2 separate regions of the Homo sapiens genome follow, and region 1 is linked to region 2. Evidence: promoter capture Hi-C in human tissues and cell types (Jung and others, 2019). All regions are on one chromosome and are shown on one strand. The core of a region is centred on a gene start or on the middle of the fragment in contact, and the rest is flanking DNA. Distances in the headings are between cores, read along the strand shown. Region 1 has its middle 240 kb from the start of LINC01889. Region 2 holds the start of GYPC (glycophorin C (Gerbich blood group)).

Region 1 (7,298 bases), core at 3,595-6,094, 1.2 Mb after region 2:
AGAGTAATTTCATTAACAGTTGTGGTTATTATAGATGTTTATTTTACAAGGTAGAACTGGCCCAATATATTGGAAACAGTTATAAATATAATTTAGAAGCTAAAAATTTCTCAGAAGACTTTAGTTTTATTCCACAGTTGCCAGATCAAGATGATTTGATATTTCCATGTTATTTACCCTCTCTGTGACTCAGTTTCCATTTTCTGTTAAATAGAACTTCTTGTCCATTTTGCATATGCCACAGAAATACATTTAGAATCAGTAAGGCAGAGGAGAATCTGCACTTTCATTTCTTTTTTTTTTTTTTATTATACTTTAAGTTTTAGGGTACATGTGCACATTGTGCAGGTTAGTTACATATGTATACATGTGCCATGCTGGTGCGCTGCACCCACTAACTCGTCATCTAGCATTAGGTATATCTCCCAATGCTATCCCTCCCCCCTCCCCCCACCCCACCACAGTCCCCAGAGTGTGATATTCCCCTTCCTGTGTCCATGTGATCTCATTGTTCAATTCCCACCTATGAGTGAGAATATGCCGTGTTTGGTTTTTTGTTCTTGCGATAGTTTACTGAGAATGATGATTTCCAATTTCATCCATGTCCCTACAAAGGACATGAACTCATCATTTTTATGGCTGCATAGTATTCCATGGTGTATATGTGCCACATTTTCTTAATCCAGTCTATCGTTGTTGGACATTTGGGTTGGTTCCAAGTCTTTCATTTCTAAAATGCCCTTTCTGCTCTGATGGAACTAGCTGAACAATCTCAAAGTTTCTTTACAGTGTGGATTAATCCACAACCCAGTGCTGTGTTTCTGGGCCAGAAGCTCTGGGCTGGTGTTAGTGTTTCTTCTTCCCTTCACTGTATCAGAGGATCTCTGAATTTATTCACAGAGGAAAGTTCTGCAGGACGGGGCGATAAGGAGCCTGCCTTTCTAAGGCTCTGCTCCCCTAGTTTCTTTCCCTCTCCCATATTCCTCAAGGGCTGCCTCAGACCTTGCATCCAGGGCCCTAGAGCAAGGCGCTTTCCAGTCCGGTGCGGTGGCTGCTTCCAGCACACAGGTGGCGGCAGAGGACCAAGCTGAAGCCAGTGGCCTTTTCTGTTCCATTTTCACAAGCCTGGCTCTCAGAGCTCCAGGGCAGCCACTGTGGTGAGGGGTGTCCGCAGACGCTGATCTGGACGCTGAGCCACGCTAACTGAAGATGAGAGTCACGTGTTCATGCCAGGCCAACCTGGAGTAGGTCTCGAGCAAATAGCTCCTCTAGGGCACAGTCGGAGGCCACGAGCCAGGCTGAGCCAAGTCTGCTTCTGTTGCTTCAGTGAGTGTTTCTTTTTTCTCTATATTATTATTTGCCTCCACCTCTATGTACAAATAATTTGTAACTTTACTGCATTTCCGTAACCCTCTAAGACATCATAGCCTTTTTCAGGGATCTGCCTGTTAAAAGAATGTAGAAAGGAGGGAGGGAGGGAAGTGACTATCCATTTATTCATTCCCTTATTTAAAAACACGTATTAAATGAATAATACAGGTTAGCAGGTCAATTTTTAGAAAACATTAACAGTAAAGCCAAATAAACCTTGGTAACCTATTGTCTACAAAAGTCAAATGTCTTGTCAAGGAACGGGATGAGCATCAAATTCAGAACACTGGGTACCTCTGTCTCCATCTTGTCTCACAGATGCTGTACCATCCAGCCCGTGACACTAAGCATCTCTCCAACTGTCTCATCCCAATGCTCTGCTCTGTGCCTGTAAGCAGTAGCCTCTGCTATTTTACTGTGCTTCTCTGCCCACAGTACCTGGAAAACAGTTCACCCTAAATGTCAGCAATAATGTCATCTCCTCTGTGGAAAACAATAACAACAACATTTTTTCTAGTACAAGATATTTTCTTTTTCATAACGTTCATAAATCTCTTCTCATTCAAATAATTATATGGTCATGGCAGATTGAATTCTTGATGTTAATTCTTTCCTCTCTTGTAGTAATGTACATTTATAGCCTTCCCACAATGGGTGCTGTGTGTTTCCCAGCCCTTAGCCCACGTGACTTGCTTTTTCCAATAGGATGTTAACAAGATTTGACATAATTGGCATCTTGAAATGTGCTGTGTGGTGGGGCCTGTCCTCTTGTGCTCTGTCCTAACCATGAGCTGACATACCCTGTCAGCTGTGTAGCTGCTGTGCCTTCATCCCAGTTCTCAGAACTAGACACGTCAAGCCTACTCTAGCCTGACCTGCAGTCCAGAGACAAGCATGGCTGAATCCAGCCCAAACTAGCTAAACTCCAACTAATTCACACACTGAGGAGAGAAAAAAGTAAATGTATGTGTAGTAATTTTTTGATAGTTTGAGATTGTATTTATTGAATCGGAATTACTGTGGCAACACCTAACTGATAAAATGCCCTTTATTGATTGGGAGTTCAAGGTCAGTACCTTATTTGCCCATGTATTAATAAAGGTTTACTGATTGAATTAAAAAATAAATATGCTCTTATTGTGACAGATTTAAAAGGTCGGGAATAAGTGTTAAGGCTTCAAGAATCTTGGTGTTCAGGTAGGACAGGCAAGACAAATATATAAATAGCTAAGCTAAGAAGAATAATGTGATGTCATGTGTCATGAGACAGCTCTCAGAGAAGTTTTGTAACTGGGACCAAGACAGTACTACCTTTCGAGGAAAGAAAAAGGAAGTTTTCATGATTGTATGAGAACAGTCATACAAGTGCAAAGTGGAGATTTGAAGGTACACAGAATTTTAGTAGTCAGAAATAAAGGGGAATTAGTAAAGAAATGCAAACAGGCATTCTGGAAAAATAGACAGGGTCCTATAGACAGGTACCTGAAGAAGCTCAAGGATAGGAACCATGAGAATTTCACTTGTGCTAGTGTGTAGAAAAAAGAAAAGTTACTATCATGAAACAGGGATGGAAAAGTTTATTGGCAATCACAGAATCTTTAAATTTATACCAAGAAATTTTTATTTTCTTCATTAGGAAATGGGGAGCTTTCGGACAGTTTTCTGGGTGGCCTTGGACCAACCAAGTTTTCCACCCTTTCTCACTTGTAATTCTCAAGGATAACTGCAGAATGTGCTGATATTGTAATGTTCTGAGATAGAGAGTGACTGACTGGAACAGCCCAGGCCCTGCTCTTGTCACTGTAGAAACAGAACATACTGCAACACTTTAGCCCAGTGGTCATCTTTTCCTCAGGGTATAAAACCCAGGGCGGGCTGCTTTTCAGCGTCCCTCAGCTGTGGTGCAGGTGGGGGCAGAGGCAGACAAGACTCCATCCATCCTGGGCAGTTTCCAGAGCCATGGAGAACAGGTTCTCCATGAATCCTAGGCTTCTGCTGTCTTTTGCTGCCTACCTGGGAGTGATAAAGCTGCTTCGTTTAACTTGTTGTGTGAGGGTTCAGTCTCAATGGTCTCATGCAAGTAGTAGAGATTGCAGCCCAAGAGGCAGCAGGCTGAAGTGGTGATCTTGCTTTGCATGAGCCATGGCAGGCCTTGCAGGACTTATATTGCAGGTTTCTGAAAGGCAAGTTAACTCATTCATTATGTATTAAGATAAAAGAGTTTTATGCATGACACATTACTTTAGGCTAAAATGCTGTGTAGCAAGTAGAACAAAAATACAAGTTCAAAAAGATAAAAATATATACAATTTCTAAGTATTAAAGAAGAGCTTATTCACATTTATTTTAAATGAATAGTTATGAATAGCAAATTGTTATAGTGTTTAGAGTCTATTGGATGCATTTTAAGAAGCAATACAACAGTTTTATTACAAAAATGTCAACTTTTACAGGGTTGGATGTTATATCCATACAACTAATTAAACTGAAGTAGAAACATTTTAGATGCAAACTTTAAATGTGTAAGAAAGTACAGCACTTATCAAAATTTTAAGAGGGAGTAGAACAAAAAGATTTGAATATCACTCTTGTCTCGATTCACAAAGCGATAAAATTACAAGAAAAATTTTCCTTGTCTTATAAATTTTGGAAATGCTATCTGAACAATCCACCGCATTTTCCAATGTACATTAGCCTTTTTAAGGTTGTGGAAGTCACTATATTTATTTGATCACTAAATTTCTCCTCACTTTCTTTTCAGATTATATTTATTTATATATAGTACAGGTGGTTTTCTGGAAACACAACCCAGGAAAACACTTTAGTAGTGTATGAGCCAAAAATTACTTAATTTGGCTACTTTCTATATATGGATGAAAACTGCCTTGGTAATTTGAGGAGAAAATAAATCTCTCTGGCTACTGTCATTCTTAACAATTAATTACAATCCTAGAAATATTGGTTAATAGAATTCTGGAATTTTGAAAGTCTAGTAAAGTTGGGTTCTATTAAATGGAAACAGAGAAGCCACATGATTTCGAGTCCAACATTAAGGTTAATTTGATAACTAAGCAGGATGCAAAGGATAATGATTGAGGTAAGGAGGCAGGACAAAGTTCCTGCAAATAAATCGGTTGAGAGATAATGGTTTGAGATAAAAAATGGTTTGGGAGGAGAAACTAACAATTAAGAATGTTGTTTGGGTCACTAGTATTTGTAAATGTATTATATAATTTTTTTTCCAGCTGGCTTGTAATATTCTTAAGAGCTGAGATAATTTTGTTTCCCTATAGCACAAGCCTTCAGTTGTTGGGTAACAAAAATATTTTCTAGTTGATAGTGCTGACATTTAATTTCAGAACTATTTCTATAATGAAGGATATATAAATTATATATGCATGGTTAAATATTAAATATTGTCTCAAACTATTTCTTGAAGTTTTATTTTTAAAAAAATAGAACCACAGAAATATATAGATGTGAAAAATTATCAGTAAGATAACAAGATACACAAATTAAGAGGAAATAAAGAAAGTTGAGGGAACATAAGAACATTTAATAAAATCTAACTAATGCTTTTGTAAATATTCAAGAAGATACTGTATATATTCAGTTAAAATTTTAAAAAGTAACTATTAAAAATCAACAGAGAATGAGAAAGAGGTTTAGGAATGAACACCATGACTACTTAACATTAAAAATTTGTGTAGGTTCATGTGACAACAAACCCCTATCTTCTATCTTCTATGAGACTTTGTTCTACCAGTGACGATACCTCTTTCAATTCTTTACTCATCCGCCCTTCTAGTTCCCACGATCCCAGCTTTACCTGTGGCATTTAGTGTTATACACACATCTCACTTGATTTTTTGATCCTCCTACCTTTTGTAAAGTAGCATTCTGTTAGACTTTTTTTCTATGTCCTTAATTTCTCATTTTCTTTCTCCTCTAATATTCCAACCTTACTTTTTCTACCCAACCATGAACATTAACATTGTCCACCTTCATGTTCCAGTGTCTCCCATTTTAATTATATTTTTCCTCTTTTCTGCAGTCAGGGTGTACTAACTCTTCAGACTCTATCAACATTCGGTCCACAGGGAGCTTGATGGCTTTTCCCTTCCACAAGACATTGTGCCGACCCATCATGTTGATGATGACATGCTGATTGAACCTGGTGAGCAGTAGCAGGTAGTCTAGACATATTGGTAAGATATTTATTTACTTACCTGTCAGAAGGTGGAGAATAAATGCCATAAAAACCTAGGGGCCTTCCATCACAGTGAAATTTCTGAGGATACAGTGGTTTGGGATATGTCAAGATATTTGTTCTATGTTGAAGGATAAGTTGTTGCTTCTGGCCTCTCCTACAACCAAAAAACTATACAACATCTGGTGAACTATTTTGGATTTTGGAGGCAACATATTCCTCATTGGAGTGTGCTGCCATGGCCCATCTACAAATGCACCAAAAAACCTGCTAGTTTTGAATGGGGCCCTATGGAAATGTGATATAAGACAGAGATAGATAGTTTCTACTGCGGCCGTATGATCCAGAAGACTAAATAGTGCTGAAAGCATCAGGGGCAGTTAAAGATGCTGTTTGGAGCCTTTGTCAGGCCCCCACCAATAAATCAAAGTGCAGACCCTTCAGATTTTGGAGAAAAGCCTTCCATCCTTGGATAGTTATCCTGTCTGAGTGGATAACTGCTTTTCTTCTGATAGCGCTTTTGGCTTGCTACTGAGCTACTGGACACTTAGCCACGAGCCATCAAGTTACCAGATAACCTGAGCTGCCCAACATGAACTGGGTTGTCTAAGCCACTAAGCTTTAAAGTTGGGTGTGCACAGCAGCACTGCATGAGTACTCCAGCAGGCCCTGAGGCAACAATTCAGTTATGTGAGGAAGTGGCACAAACTCCTATGACCTCAGCTTATGCTACACTTTTCTCTCTCTCCCATGCTGTTAGTATGGTCTCACAACTATGGTTCCCTACAGTTAACAGAGTAAGAGAATACACGGACCTGATTTACAGATGGCCCTGCATGATGTGCAAGCGCACTCGAAAATGGTGCCTTTTTCGGGGACATTCCGAAGGGCAGTAGTGAAGGGTAATCCTCCCAGTTGGTAGAACTTTGAGCAGTGCACCTGGCTTTTTTTTTTTCCTCTCAAAAGGGAAATAGCTGGAGTTATGACTCTGATGCTGAGGAGAAGCAAAAAATAAATAAATAAAATAAAAAAATTAAAAAAGCCAAGCAATTCCAAGCTTTGGGAGCCTTGAATTGGTCCACCTAAAAGAGGCACAGAATCTGACTTTTGGAAAAGTACAGCGACACTGAGAAGGAATGTGCAGAAATGACAAAAGCAACCCTGAGAGATCCAGGCAGAGTAACAAGAATGCCTACTCCCAGTACAATTCTTATTGTATGTATTTTTTAATGGAACATAATCTATAGGACTTAATCTATTGAAAAGTACAAATGGAGCTAACTGATTTCACATAATCTCTCTGTCATACACCAAGTTCCCATACATGTGTGGATCCATTTATCTACTTGCCTTTTACTGTACCAAATGCCATACTGTTCACTGGCATAGGATTAAAAATCTGATAGCATACTTGTCAGTAATATATTCTTCACCTTTAAAATTATCTTCTCAATTCTTTAGCCTTTAATTTTTCATATGTATGCAAAAATCAACTTTTCAATTTCCATGGGCAAATGTTATCAGGGTTTTAATGGGAATAGCATTGAACTTGTAGATTAATTGACATCTTTATAACATTGAGCCTTCCTATTCATACACATTGCATATTGCTTTACTTATACAAGTCTTTTATTTTTCTCAAATTGTGTCATCTTCTCTAAGAACATCTTGTTTATACCTGGTTAGATTGGTTTCTAAAAACTTCATAGTTACAGTT
Region 2 (6,752 bases), core at 1,807-4,306:
CTCAGTCTCACTTAATTACAGAGGCTCATTCCAAAGTGACAGCGTTTGTTTTGTTGTTTTACCTCTCAGTTTGGCCAAGATAAAAAATGCAGTGTGAGTGAGGACGCAGGGAAATAGTGACTTTCATAGGCTATTTGTGAGCATGAGAAACCGGTGTGACCTTTAGGAGGGTAGTTTCTTAAGATCTACTAACATTTTAAATGAATACACACTTTGTCCCAGAAATCAAATGCTGAGGTGGGAGAATTTATCCTAACAGTTTACAGACACATGCATGTAAAATCCTCCTTACTCATTGTCACAGGACTGCTGTGTGTGGTTTAAAAAAATTAAATGAAGTCTGCATACAGCCTAAATGCCCATCAGCAGAGGAACTGATTAAAGAAAATAACAAGGTATAACCTTTAAGAGATATTCTGATGGAAAAAAAACAAGATGAAGTAAAATATATAAAATGCATTTTTATTATGTAAAATAAGAAATATTTGTATCAGCAAATTTACTTCTAGAAGGATTATCCTCAATAAATAAAGTAATTGCCATTGAGGTAGGGAGAAGGTGTCTTTCTCCTATTTTTAACTCTTCATTCACTGTTAACTTTACTGTTTGTTTGGTTTTGTATTTAGAGCGTGCTTGTTGGCCCACTGGGTATGCTCAGTTACTGGAAGATGTTTTGGCTGTGGCCTCAGACAGGCACTTGAGGCATAGATGTACATACAGGTCTGCCACCTGAAGAGGCAAACTGACTTGACTTGGCCCAACCTCTCACCTCTGTTGAGGGGACCTCTTCCTACTCACTGCAGATGGGTTCACTTGTTCCCACCACAAGCGCAGAATGCCTTGTACTTCACAACCCTTTGCTCCCCAGGGAGCTCTGCAAGTCCCCAGAAATACTTGCCCAACCACGGGCACCCTTGGAAGGGTCCAGCTGCTGACCACCAGCATCATGTGACTCCCAGTGCCAGTGACATCTGGAGGAATTGAGCAATGGCTGAGGTGGAATTTCATTTGGCACTTAATGCAATCCTCTGCTTCTGCCAGAGGCGGTGAATTCTATATAAAGCTGCCAAACCTGGCCGTCTTCTCACTGAGCCTTGACCCCTTCCATCCAAGGGCAAGGCAATGGATTGCTGTGCATGACTCACGCGCAGTAACTGTGGCATTGGGGCCTAGCCCAGCTGAGCTGAGCAGAGCAGGCCGGCCTGGCGGAAGTGGGTCCTCTCCGCTCTAACCTCTGGCTCTGATGAGCAGCTACATAAACTGAGACAGGATATAGACACATCCTGCCTGAGTTAGCAGCAAGAAATAGCCGCCCCCCACCCCCCCTGCAGTTCTCGCACAGCAGGGATCCTGCCATAAATCAATCCGAAGTCTAATGTGGAATGGCTTGCAAGCAAGGGCTGCACCGCTGTTTGTCTCCCAAGGCAAGTGTTGAAGGTCTGAAACCTGAGTCCTGGAGAACTGCTTGGGCTGCTGGGCTGGGCTGGGCACGGGGGCGGGGGTCAGGCAAGCCCATCCTCTTCAGACATGAGAATGCCTCTCAGCCTCACCTCCTCAGTGACTGAATTGGAATAATGACAGTGGCTCCTGTCCCTTTAACCCAGGACCTGCCGTATACACACACATAAACATATGCTCAAGTTACGTGCTCCGGGAACCACAGTCTCATGTGCAATTATATAAACATGCCCAGCACGGATCCAGCACTTAGGATGTGTCAGACTCCGTGCCGGGACATTTATACGCACTTCGTGCTGCTGGATGAGTTATCTCCTGTTATTATTCCTACTTTCCTACTTTGCAGATGAGGAAACTGGAGCTAAGAGAGGCTGCCTTGTTTATAGGCAGTGCAGATGATCCCAGTGCAGACTGAGGGGCCTCGCTCCCAAGCACCACTGATGCCTGCGCACTCCCAGGCTGACGCAAGCACAACCACAGGCACATGGAGTGCCGTGTACACACGTAGACCGAAGCAGCACTCCTCCACGCCAAGCTCCAAGCTCAGGCGGGGTGAGGGGTGAGGCCTCACAACCCCCTGGATTTCAAAGACTTATAAAAGAGTTGGTGTCTCCAATACCCATATCATTATCATATCAATAAGGTATCATTGTCACATGATAGGCTCAGGGTATCTCCTCTCTGACAGACTCTAAGAATCAGACCGCGGCAGGGTGGGGGTAAGAGGGATGTACATTACGTTTTTTGGTAAAATCAAATGGTAGTTTTTATTGCAAAAGTCCAACGGCAGAGGAAGAGGGCAGAGAGAGGCCCAGCAATGTTTCCAAGCATCTACAAAGACTTTCATCACAGATGATTTCCTCTCAGCAAGAAAACGTGATGGTTTAAAAGAGAAAACCAGCAGCGAGGAATTACAAATCCCCAAAGGATCCAGGCCGCAGGATTCCCTCGCATCTGTGTGCCTTTGCGGCGCCCAGCGGAGCGAGCAAGTCCCTGGGCAAGGCTGGAGTTGCCTGGAGTTCACCGGAGCCTGGCCGGTCGGACCCTGGCTGGGGAGCAGCACAGAAGCAACTTGTGATGTGAACTCTCACCTAACTGTTCTTTAGGGAGACAATTCTGGCCCCACACATTTCACATGCCCCGCACAAAGAAACAGAAAGCGGGCGACACGCCCTGGGAGGGCGGGCTGGCGGCTTCTCCAGCTCGGAGCGCGTGGAGGCTGCGCGTAGGGGTCCGGGACGCGGGACAGGGACTCCGCGCAGCCCAGGCGCCGGGGAACCGGGGCTGGAGTCGGGGATCTGAGCCCAGCGGACGCCTCCTCCGCCTGGAGGCCCGGCACGGACCGGGACACCAGGGCGTCCGTGGCCGTGGCTCGGCCCCTGGCTGCTGCGGGCCGCGGCCTCCAGTGGGTCCCCAGGACCCTTCCCCACGGCGGGTACTCACCGAGGCTGAGAGGCCACGCCGTGCTGTTGGGGCTTCTCGTCGACCACATTCCTGGGCGTCAGCCCGGGCAGAGACCGCGGGGACTGGCCAGGCCGGGCCAGGCCGGGCCGGGGGAGGGTCGCGCTCCCGGGCTCCTGACCCTCGGCGGCGAGAGGAAGCGGCACCTGGGTCACACTCCTCCCGCGCGGGCCGAGGGGAGGGGCTCTGGCCCGGAGATAGGCAGACTTCATTTATTTTTTTTCTGCAGACTTGGCTGGTGGGGTTTCCACCCCCTTTTTTTTTTTTAAACACACACCCGCCCACTTCTGAACTCTTCTTTGCTCCAACTTTCCTGCGCAAGAACCACGCTTTTCTAACCGTTTCTCTTTCCATCTGCCACTACCGGATACAGAGGTTGTGGTTGAGAATTCCCCCTGGAGTGCAGGGAAAACTCCCCAATGTGACATGATGGCCTGGCCCAGCACTGTCGGGGATGGTGACCAAATAGGGCAGACCTGTGTTGAAATCTTGGCTGGCTGCGCGGCCGCTGGATAGCTGGGCGGCCTCTCTCAGCTGCGGGGCATTTGTCCCTGGAGAGAGTCCCTGTCTTGTTGGCCTTTGGGGGCCCTGTACTCATGGATGGGCTGTTGAGCAAAGATCATTCCAAAACAGGAAGAATTGCTGGACAAGAGTCGTGATTTGTTCCCATTGCTTTTGTCTGAAGCTGCCAGACACAGTGCAGTTTGTGAATTCGCTCTACTTTTGCCATGAAAATCTCCACGTGGATTTCGATACATACCTTTGTTGGTTAAATGCAGTCAAATGGCACCACCTACAAAAAATGTATCATAGCATTATCTGCCCCTTCTGCCCAGAGACAAGGGCAGGGAACTTGAGGCCCTTGTTTTAAATCCCCACCCAGGGGAACACCCTGTGCTTCTCCTGTGTGATGTCTGAACCTTCCTGTGCTGCTTTTCATTGTTTACTTTATAGTTCCCCAAGCACTTTTGTGACGCCCACCTCTCCCCTACCTTCTGCCATTAAGGCCTATCCTGCACAATCCGGAGAGCCAGGCCAGCTGTCTGTACAATGTATGGGCGGTGCCTTTGGGACTGTCATCTGCATTGAATACAATGAGAGGCTGCGCCCTGGAGATTTGCAACACAGAGGCTTTGCTCACCTCTAGCCGGGCTGCACAAACTCCAGGCCTTCTTGACGCAGTGGGAAAGCACTCATGATTCACTTTAGTTAGATCATGAAGAACCCCCGATGCTGATAGATCTTTACTCCAACTGCCATGTGCAGCACAGCCATGTTGAATTGAAATAAACTACTCACAGAATGCCTTTGGCCTGGTGGGGAAGCCCTGAGTCTTGATTTCCTCATCTATAAAATGGAGGCAAGAACACCTGCATTCCGGGGTTTTACAGAGGCAGTGATTGTAGAATCACAGTGGGAACAGAAAAGGCATTTAATAAACAGCAATGAGTAATGATTAATTTATTTTTATTTATTTATTTATTTATTTTTCTGAGACGGAGTTTTTGCTCTTGTTGCCCAGGCTGGAGTCCAACGGCGTGATCTCGGCTCACCACAACCTCCGCCTCCTGGGTTCAAGCAATTCTCCTGCCTCAACCTCTCGAGTAGCTGGGATTACCAGCATGTGCCTCCACGCCTGGCTAATTTTGTATTTTTAGTAGAGACGGGGTTTCTCCATGTTGGTCAGGCTGGTCTCGAACTCCCGACCTCAGGTGATCCACCCACCTTGGCCTTCCAAAGTGCTGGGATTACAGGCGTGAGCCACTGCACCCGTGATTACTTTAACAGTTTAACTTTTTTTTTTGGTAATACATACACATACGTCTACGTGGAACAGTAGTCCCGCTCCTCTGTCCTGAGAGAAAATAACTTTAATTATCTGAAATGCAGCTGGAAAGTTGGAAAGAAGCAGAAAGTTCTGCCAGGTAACAACGGACAAGTCATTAGGTCATTGCAGCACACTTAGAGAAGTCACTTTTACAGACTCATTTAGAACCTACTGGCCTTAGACGTAATCATAAGAGATTTCCTTAATTTCTTAGGGTAAGACAGGTTGAAGGCATCAAAATGTTGCAGAGAATTCCTTACAGAAAATAAGCCAAAAATTAATAAACTAACGAACTAAACAGTGAAAATTGAAAGCCCCACAAACTGCAGAGGTCAGATACAAGAACGAAGTAGCATTTGTTACAGAACTAAAGCAATCTCAGCTCCAGCCATCACTGGAGGATGTGACAGTTCCTTGCGCTATTAAAGACCACAGGGCTTTGGAACTCAATCTGGGTTAGTTACTCTACTGCCTACTAGCTGCGTAACCTTCAGCATTTCACTTTCTTTCTCTGAGCCTCATTTTTCTCAGCCTGGAAATTGGAGCAATCTGCAAAGTTAGGCTGTTGTGAGTAATATATTCGATAATAATTAAAGAGGTAATTACAATGAGAGTACACTGGAGTTACTTAAAGATATTGGCCCCCTTCCTCCTCTAACACATACTTTGTTCATAGTAAGGACCCCAAGTCATTTGAAAAAGAAAGTAAATAGTGTGTCTTAGTGTGTAGCAAATTAGCTAACAGGGAAACATTTGACATATTTTAGAAAATTTAACTATGAAAGTGTCTAATGTTAAATAAATGACTCTTAAGAAGGGAAAATAATTATGTGAAAAATTTAATTATATGGTAACAGTCTGACATAAGTCAAGAAATGTATTATTAGTGTGTCTTCATGTGTTGGATATTTATTAATGAAGTTAAAAAAAAAACTCAGCTATATCTTGCAATAATAAACCAGTTCTTATCTTGTCTAGTTCCCATAAATACTCTTAAACGGAGTATTGCCAAGAGTCCATTGTAAAGATGAGAACCCAGAAGTTCAGCACAGTGACAAGAACTTGCTCTGCAGTGCAGCCGGGATGGACGGTTCTAGCTGTGTCTTCATTGACTGTCTGTGGCTGATACAAGCTGCAGAGCCCTCCAAGATGTGAGATGGTATGATCCAGTCCTGGAGATGAATTTTCTCTTCCTCTTCAGGGAAGAAACTGCTCATGGGAAACTGCCTTCCAAATCCTCAGTGCTAGTTCCTTATTGGGAGTGGAGTTGGCGGTCCCCTGCTGCTGTTGCTGTCTCCTGGGTGAGCCCTTACAGATGGTGGTAGGTAGATGTTGCTTGGGCCTTTAATGAAAGGTTTTGCCCCTCATCACAGTAACACATGCTCTTTGTGCAAAAAGAAAAAATAAAAAAGAAAAAGCCAAAAAGATACCTAAACCCTAAGAATTGCTTGCAATCTCCAGCACATTAAGGTTATTTACCTTTAGTCTTTTTTATGCATTTACGAATATTTGCTTTATACTCTTGAGATTTTACTGAATACGTGATTTCAAGTGCTGAGCTTTTACTACTAAACATTATGTCATGAGCATTTTCTCATGTAAAAGTAGAAAAGCTCTTTAACTCATTTTAATTACTAGGTTGTTTCATTTTCTTTGCTGGTTGAATAGTGCTGTGATAACCATATGAACATAAATATCTGGATTTCATAATTTTTTCCTTAGGGTATATTCTGACAAGCAGAATTACTCAATCAAAGGTTACAAATGCATTTAAAGCTTTTGATACATTCATAAGTTCTGGCTGTGACCTTTACTTTCTTCCCAATCAAGAGTACCAGTGTTTATCTCAGAGTCTCTTGCCAGAATTAAACAGCAAACTTAAAATCATAGTTAATTCCATAGAAAAGAAACATACATAGTTATTTGTGTCAGCATTTTCTTTGATTACCAGAGAGGCCGAATATGCTGTCAGTTGCTTATTTACAAATCACAGCTTCTTTTAGGT

Evidence for each region. The method cuts DNA at HindIII sites, captures the fragments that hold promoters and counts their contacts. A contact is called where the count stands out against the background at its distance.
Region 1: a contact is called between a fragment that was not itself captured here and the fragment with the promoter of GYPC in region 2, in 1 of the 25 tissues and cell types used here (lymphoblastoid cells).

What each region holds. Positions count from the first base shown.
Region 1 is chr2:125,466,025-125,473,322 of GRCh38, reverse strand. No RefSeq gene overlaps it. Among named protein-coding and RNA genes, the nearest start is that of LINC01889, 240 kb to the left of the region's middle. The HindIII fragment of the contact is 6,757 bases long and covers 1,466-7,298 here.
Region 2 is chr2:126,652,462-126,659,213 of GRCh38, reverse strand. GYPC (glycophorin C (Gerbich blood group)) reads right to left here and starts at 3,056. Exons shown (of 4, transcript NM_002101.5): 1 at 2,902-3,056. The coding sequence starts at 2,950. RefSeq lists enhancers at 1,357-1,586, 1,777-2,026, 1,484-2,323, 3,117-3,406 and a silencer at 2,657-3,026. The HindIII fragment of the contact is 14,870 bases long and covers 1-6,752 here.